Regions from separate parts of the Homo sapiens genome. Here region 2 is linked to region 1. The links are contacts of gene promoters, found by promoter capture Hi-C in blood cells and fetal thymus (Javierre and others, 2016). All regions are on one chromosome and are shown on one strand. The core of a region is centred on a gene start or on the middle of the fragment in contact, and the rest is flanking DNA. Distances in the headings are between cores, read along the strand shown.

Region 1 (4,011 bases), core at 1,446-3,945:
TCAAATCCAGAATTTTTTTACATCTATTTTAGTACTTGGGATTGAGTATATGTCTTTAACCTTTAATAAACGAGAAAATTAAAGGATTATTATCAGCTACTGGTCTCAATGCACCCAACACTTCAAATATCCTGAAACCTTAAAGTTTGCATCTTTCATTCCTCCTCTTCCACTGGGTGTGGTCATAATAATGACTTTATGGAAGGAATAAAGTTTAAAGATTCTTGATAAACCCGGGAAAACTATTTAAATTAAGAATAAAATTGGCCGGGCGTGGCGGCTCATGCCTGTAATCCCAGCACTTTGGGAGGCCAAGGCGGGTGGATCACCTGAGGTCAGAAGTTTGAGACCAGCCTGGCTAACATGGTGAAACCCCGTTTCTACTAAAAATACAAAAAAAATTAGCCAGGCATGGTGGCACATGCCTGTAATCCCAGCTACTCGGGTGGCTGAGGCAGAATCGTTTGAACCCAGGAGGCAGAGGTTGCAGTGAGCCGAGATCGCGCCATTGCACTCCAGCTTGAGCAACAAGAGCGATCTCAAACTCTGGCTCAAGAAAAAAAAAAAAATTAAATTAACAAAAAGAAAAACACAGAAAGCCATAAATCCTTTAAATAGCTAAAGTAAGCTTTAAGAGCTTATTTCGGGACATTAGTTTACATACATAATTTATACTTTAATAAAATTTGAAGGAAATCTCGCAGCCTATGTAGTAGAAAAAGACTAAAGAATTTTAAATACTACGTTTTTCCCCCTTTTTCTTCTTCCATGTCTCTTCCTTTATGACATCAGAGCCACAATAAACTGTTATGGTGATACACAATAAGGTTAGAACACGGTGGTTCTACTATGATTCATACTACGATGTAACACAATCCAATCAGCACATAGAAGAAAATAAGTGGACATCAATCCTAAAACTAAAACCCTACTAATAATTTCATATACAAATTTTAATAAAACCTAGAAGAATCTTAGCTAAAATATTTTCTCAAAAAAAATACAAATATAGTTTCTCTTTCTAGACAGGGCATAGTGTTCCCAGTGATAGCTTAGCTTTTTCAGCCAAATTATTTCCCAACTTCAATGACAATAATTTAAACATCCAATTGATTTTTATATCCAATTGATTTTATAATATTTTAATTGGGGATTTATATAATACAAATTTTATCTCCAAGTAAAATAAAGTTGAGAAAAACATACCGATTCATCTTCATCACTGATTGTTCTGTCTGAATAGTCTTCCTTTTCTGAATCTTCTGACATCTTTTCCAGTGTTTGACTTGAGATTTCTTGTAATATACGGGTAGGCTGTAAAACAATTTCTAAGGAAATTATATGACAGCTTTTCTTTTCAAGCTGTAGGTGTTTACTACATTAAATGAGTACTCAAAAATATATTCAATTGTATTTAACAGTCACAACAGTCTTCTCTAAAAACTAATTAGAATACAACTAATAAAACCTTCAATTTCAAAGAGTTAAAGGAATTTTCCATGACTATACGAGACAACAACCACAATAAGACAAATCAAGCAAATCATTTAATTAAAAGGAATTTCCAGAGTATACAGCCAAATCATTCACATTTTATATTTACAATTAAATACTACACAGCAAGTTCAGAATGATCCTGAGGCATTAAAAGATAATGAATTTAAAAATTATAGTCACTTACTGAAATGTAGCAATATAATTTTAAGTTTTCTCCTTGATTTTCACTTGACCAAAAGTTCAAGTGACAAGACTTTACATTTTGATTATTATTCTGTAGATACTGTCTGTTCTAATATTCATTTATATTATTCTTATTCTTAGAAATCTAAATAGCTACCAGAAGGTTGTATTGGTAATGACCATTACCATTCTATGCAAGTATCTTCCCATGTGGGTAATATCAAGACCAGGGAATAATCGAAATTTCTTGTCAAGTTCCCATCGTTCTTGAGAGACCAAAGGACTCGACAATTTCAAATCTATTAGTTTACGCCCCTCTCTACAGGAAGCGTGTTTTGGAGCGTGGACTACATATAAGTTAAGTCCAAGCTCTATGGCAAATCACTGCCAATGCCACGGAACCGACTGTCTCATAGATGACACCTTCAGTCCTAAGAAACTGAAGTTTCTGCCTGGGCATCACAACTCCACATTTGGAAAATCCGACTGGCCTAAATTCCATTCCTTACAGGTGCACACAGGGCGCACGAAGTGCTGACCTGCTGCGGATACAGCTCTGGTCTCAGGAAACGGCCCTTATCCACCGGCGCTCCGCGGGTGTCTTCCACCACTGCGGAGGAGGGGCAGATGCGGGCGCGTCCACGCTTAGCCGCGTCCCGACAGTACCAAGGCGTTTTTGGCGGGAAGCACGATGAGGCCACAACTCCGGGCGGCCGAGTTCCTTCCCGCACTCACTCCTGGACACCTTGGTGTGGGGAGGCGCTCATTTTCCGGGGCGCGCTCGCTTCCCGCAGGGGGCGCCCCGCCTTACTTCTGCATACCTCACCGTCCTGTCGGGGCCGGCACCTCGCTCCCACGCGAGTCCTCTGGCCAGGCCAGTCGTCGCTTCCGTGCGGGGAGAATATCTCGGGATCTCGCGATCTCGCGGAGAACCCGGTATCCAGCCGCTAGAAGTAACGCCACTGCTGGAGATCCGCAGCCCCAGCCACACTCCCAACTCTCGTCATCAGGCAACGGGTCCGCCCTCGCGAGACTTCGGACAGCCTTCGGAGATCACCTAGCAACCAGCTCGGAGGAAAGGAGCCTGCGTAGGTTTTGGCTCCAGGAAGAGGGATCCCAGAGGATGCCGGGAACTCGGGGTGGGCCGCAGGGCGGTCAGAGAGGCTCTCAGAGAGGCTTTGGGGTCTGTCGGGAGAATTTAGGAGTGGGGAAGACCGGGCAGCTATTTATTCCCAGTGGTCTGCACTTCGGCTGTTGCCTCAGAGGAGGCAGTAGAGCATGCTGGTTAGGACTGTGCTTTGGAGCCCACCTGACTTTTAACAGTGTGACATTGAACAAATTAATTACCTGGACTTCATGGGTACAATACTTGTAACTACTACTTGGAGATGTTAGAATATTAAAAAGTACGTTGGTCTTGATTTTTTACAGACTGAGTTCCATTCTACACAATTGTGCGATTAATTCGCTTATTCGATTCTGGAAAATGAGGCTTTTCTCCTTAAATACTAAATGGAGAGTCATAGATGAACTAGGGTGAATTCTCAAAATTATCAGCTCAGAGATTCTTTATAGCAATCGTCAGCTAGCATATTTAACACTGTTTTCCTGATGACTGCAAATCACTATATGTAGTCTCATTTAGTTAACAGACGTTATTCATGAACATCCCATATTGATTTTTTCCCTCATCTTTAGCTCTACAGGGTAAGGTAATCTATTTGGAAAAGTTTTCCAAGTACAGCTGAAAAAAAGTCTAGATTTTGATGATATAAGAATGTAAATAAACACTTTTCACAAAGCGTTATATGTCATGAGATTCGTGATATTGTAGAAATGGAGATAATAAATGGTAGCAAGTTTGAAAGTAGAATAAAGGGCAAAGCACTATGGCTTAAGCATGGAAATGGGTTAACATAATCTCTTTGTATTTTGTAAGTATCTGAAAATAGGTGTTTTTGAGGTCAGCAGTTTAAAAGTATGAACCTTCCAGATTAGACCTTGGCCAGAGAATATTAATAGAGTATATCTTAGATCAACCTCTTGAAAAGTAGCTCTTATAGTTGAAGCTTGTTTTATGCCATACATAAATCACTAAAGGTGACATGCACAGAGAAATCTTTATTTATGTAATCTGTTTTTCTGTTGGATTTTAGTCATGGCTGCAAGCCATAGGATGTCAGCTGTACAAGGTAAAACTGAGAAATGGTCTAACCAGGTTATATAAGAAATTAATGGCAGGGCTGAGAGACTTAAGTCTCGTGATTTTTAGTCCAAATAGTTATATTATCACATACCAAGTAGTCCATGGGAAGAAAAATGATCTTAATG
Region 2 (4,166 bases), core at 1,236-3,735, 260 kb before region 1:
GGGCTGTAACTCCAGGGTCAGAGACAATCGGACGCTCTCTGGCCCTAAGGCTCCACAGAGAGACTCTGGGAAACTAGCATGTCGTCTCCTCAAAGGCGCCCCGACTGAGGAGCATTTGGAAAGTCAGGGCAAGGGGGTGGCCTGTATCAGGCGGAAGCCATGGATGCTAAATGTCCACGAAGCACAGGGCATGTGCAGAATGCGAATCGGCTGCGCCTGGGCTAGAGGAGCGAGCGTGGGCCGTGTGGTAGAGCAGTGTTCTGAGGCCGTCCTCATACTGGAAGAGCAGCTGTGGGCCCACTTTTATCTCCGTGCAGGGCGACCTCAAATGCTACCTGATGCTCTGCTTTGCAGACTATGGCCACGGCCATTCTGACTAGCGTTCTGAAAGCTGAGAAATGCATTTACGGTAGCAGTTGTGGTAACCTCCCCTTCACAGAGCGATCCCAGTGCTCTTTGGGGTGGGAACTGACGGCCTTTCAAGGGCTGGACCTGATTGGTCCAAGTGTGATTCCCTCTATGGCCAGTCATTGGCTCAGCAGGCTGGCAATTTGGCCAGTTCCAACCAATGAGAGGGGAGGAGCGGTTCCGGAAAAGTTCTTCCTTAACTCTTAAGAAAGAGCTTTCGTAGGAAATCTTTGTCTTACCTGATGTAGAGTAGGAAGAAAGACAGTTCGATTGCTCTAGCTGCCATTCCATAGCCACAGGAGCCGGAGGAGGTGGGGAGGGCAGGGAAAGATAAGAAACTGAGCAGAGCCAAGAGAGGCCTGAATCCACGCGGACATGGTGAGCTCCTCTGCCTGCCTCGGACCTCCCCGGGTGTGAGGAGTGCATTTCTTCGTGGTTTAATAATCCAGGCCCTGGCAGCCCAAAGAATCCCAACTGAGACAACCTCTCAAGACTTGTCTTCTGCCATCCCCAGGGAAAGGCCAGGAAACTAACCGCAGAAAAACAAATACTGTTCCGTGACCCCAGGGATTAGAAAATCAGAAACCGGCCGGGCGCGGTGGCTCACGCCTGTAATCCCAGCACTTCGGAAGGCCGAGGCGGGTGGATCACGAGGTAAGGAGATCGAGACCATCCTGGCTAACACAGTGAAACCCCGTCTCTACTAAAAATACAAAAAAATTAGCCGGGCGTGGTGGCGGGCGCCTGTAGTCCCAGCTATTCGGGAGGCTGAGGCAGGAGAATGAGGTGAACCCGGGAGCCAGAGCTTGCAGTGAGCCGAGATCGCGCCACTGCACTCCAGCCTGGGCGACAGAGCGAGACTCCGTCTCAAAAAAAAAAAAAAGAGAAAAAAGAAAATCAGAAACCGACCTTGGGAGCCAGAAGGCAAACTGCACCTCCAACCTGCTAAATGCAAAGCCCTGGTGTCCCCAGGCGAGGGCGAGGGTGGTTCCCGTGCCCCATCCACGCCACCCCGGTGGGCCTGCTCACCTCCTCGGGCGTGGAGACCAGCGAGCAGCTGGCCCCCTGGCTGTCCACGCCGCTGTCCTTCACGCTGCCCTCGGCACAGGCCGGCTCTCGGCAGGCCTCCGCCAGGGTCGCAGGGCCGCGGTGCTTCTGCGCCCAGGCCTGCCGGAGGCTGGCCTTCCTCTCCTCCGAGAGGTTCTGCCACAGGTGGGAGATGGCCGCGGAGACGATGGGCAGCGCCGCCTCCTGCGGGGTAATGATCCCGCTGCCAGTCAGAAGGTCCATCGTCTGTTTGTAAAAGTTGAGATACCTGGAACAGAAGCGGCGCCGTCTCGCACCCCTAAAGCTCCCTCTCGAAGCGATTCGGGATTCGGTTCATGGTGTGGACCCCAGCACGCAGGCCCGGCCACGGCGCCACGGCTCACCAGGGCTGAGACTTCTCAGACTCTGCACGCCCCTGGCCCTTGGAGAGCAGCAGCCTTCCTGGGGGCCATGAAGGACATAGACTTGGGCTTTGGGGCCCCTCCCCAAGTTCTCCCAGTCCCTGCCCCATGAAGCCTTCTGTGTTAGACAGAAGCAGATAAGAGGCGTAGCTGCCTCAGCTCTCATCCTAAGGGAATATTCTTGAAAATTCTGAGCCCATGAATGTGCTGGCATGATAGGACTCCAACTTTAACCTGCAGCCCGAAAGTCAGGCTCGGCTGTGGAGAGAGCCTCCTGCTATTGAGCCAACTCCTCTGGAAGCCAACATGGCTGCTGAGGGGCTTTGAGTCTATGGAGGAGGCAGTGGCAAGGGACGTCTGAGCCAGCCATTCGCCATCTTTCCTACTGTAAGAGCAGTGCGGACTTGTGGGGGTATGTGTTTTGGGGGAGAGAGGGGTTAGCCCTCATAATCACCATCAGCTGTGCCCCCCACAAGGCACCCCAAATAAACACCCAGTCTCAGTAAAAACACTGTATGAGTGTATGTGCTATGCTAATGTAGCTTTGAGACTATTTCTCTAGCCTCTCTGCCAGTCCTGTCCCTCAGCCCCTCCCATATGAAAATCCTGGAGATTTCGTGATTCAGGGCCTAGTCTGAACCATGCACTCCAGCTGGGGCACACAGCTGCAGCATACCCCAGCCAGAGCCTCTGTCCCCTTCCCCATGGGAGGGAGCTCCATGGGTGCACAGAGCCACCCCACCCAACTGTTCACACCGTTCAAATTCCATGAGGTCAGGCGACAAAGTTCCTGGGGAGTATAAGATCACTTTTTTCTCCTCTTCCTCCTCCTCCTCTTCCTCTTCCTCCTCTTCCTCCTCCTCCTCTTCTTCTTCCTCCTCCTCTTCTTCTTGATCTTCCTCTTCCTCATCTTCCTCCTCCTCAGCATCCTTCCTGACTGCCTCAGTTGGGCACCAAGGGGAGGAACCATTCTGAGGAAAACTGTTTGAAAGCAGGCTGGGAAAGAAAACAGAAACAAGACAACTATAGATTAATATCCCTCATGAACATGGACAAGAAATTCTTAGCAACTTTAGCAAGTATACATGTATATGTATGTGTGTGTGTGTAGGTGTACACATCATGACCAAATGAGCTTTTTCCTAGGAATGCAAGAGAACTGGTTCAACATTTGAAAATCAATCAATGCAATTCACCATATCAACAGACTACAGAAGAAAAACCTCAATAGATGCAGAAAAAGCATCTGACAAAATCAACATCCATGCATGATAAAAACTCTCAGCAAACTAGGAATAAAAAGGAGCTTTGTTAACCTGATAAAGGGTATCTCCAAAAAACCTACCGCTAACATCGTGCTTAATGGCAAAAGACAGTTTCCCCTCTTGATCAGGAATAAAATGAGACTGTCCACTCTTACTACTTCTATTCAAAATTGTTCTGGAGGTTCTAGACAGTCCAGTAAGGCAAGCAAAAAAAGGAATATACATTGGAGCAGAAGAGACAAATCTGTCTTTATTTGCAGACAGTGTGATTATCTGTGTAGAAAAATCTCAAATAATCTACACACATGTCATTAGAACCAAGAAGGGAATTTAGCAAGGTTGCAGAAGACAATATCAGAATATAAAAATGAATAATATTGCTACATAGTAGCAATGAACAGTTGGAAATTGAAATTTTAAAAAGCATCATTTACAATAGCATGAAAAAATGACATACTTAGTTTTAAACAAAAAGCTCAATCTATTAAAAACAGGATAAATTGGACTCATCAAAATTTGCAAATTCTGCTCTTCAAAAGACACCTTGAAGAGAATGAAACAATAGGATATAATTTGGAAAAGTCAGGACCTGCACCCAGGATCTCTTTATACTTAGAGGAATAATCCCCAAGGTAACATGTTGAGTCAAAAAAGCAAGCTCAGCTGGGCGTGGTAGCTCACACCTGTAATCCCAACACTTTGGGAGGCCAAGGCAGGTAGATACCTTGAGGTCAGAGTTTGAGACCAGCTTGGGCAACATGTTGAAACCCCGTGTCTACTAAAAATACAAAAACTAGCCAGGCGTGGTGGCAGGCGCCTGTAATCCCAGCTACTTGGGAGTCTGAGGCAGGAGAAGTTCTTGAACCTGGGAGGCAAAGGTGGCAGTGAACTGAGATCATGCCACTGCACTCCAGCCTGGGTGACAGAGTGAGACTCCGTCTCAAAAAACAAACCAAACCAAACCAAAAACAAAAACAAAAAACCATGAGATCATAAAAGTACATTTCTCAAATCAGTTTCTCCTTCAAAGTATGAATGTGACATT

Evidence for each region. The method cuts DNA at HindIII sites, captures the fragments that hold promoters and counts their contacts. A CHiCAGO score of 5 or more calls a contact.
Region 2: a contact is called between a fragment that was not itself captured here and the fragment with the promoter of AGBL3 in region 1, in 1 of 17 cell types (neutrophils). The highest score is 5.1, in neutrophils.

Annotation. Positions count from the first base shown.
Region 1 is chr7:134,985,192-134,989,202 of GRCh38, reverse strand. It overlaps AGBL3 (AGBL carboxypeptidase 3), which reads right to left and starts at 2,695. Exons shown (of 17, transcript NM_178563.4): 1 at 2,502-2,695; 2 at 1,207-1,328. The coding sequence starts at 1,269. RefSeq lists enhancers at 2,004-2,263, 2,344-2,483, 2,494-2,793. The HindIII fragment of the contact is 3,121 bases long and covers 631-3,751 here.
Region 2 is chr7:135,243,974-135,248,139 of GRCh38, reverse strand. It overlaps STRA8 (stimulated by retinoic acid 8), which reads right to left. Exons shown (of 9, transcript NM_001394401.1): 5 at 2,613-2,852; 6 at 1,438-1,723. Among named protein-coding and RNA genes, the nearest start is that of STRA8, 12 kb to the right of the region's middle. The HindIII fragment of the contact is 6,230 bases long and covers 1-4,166 here.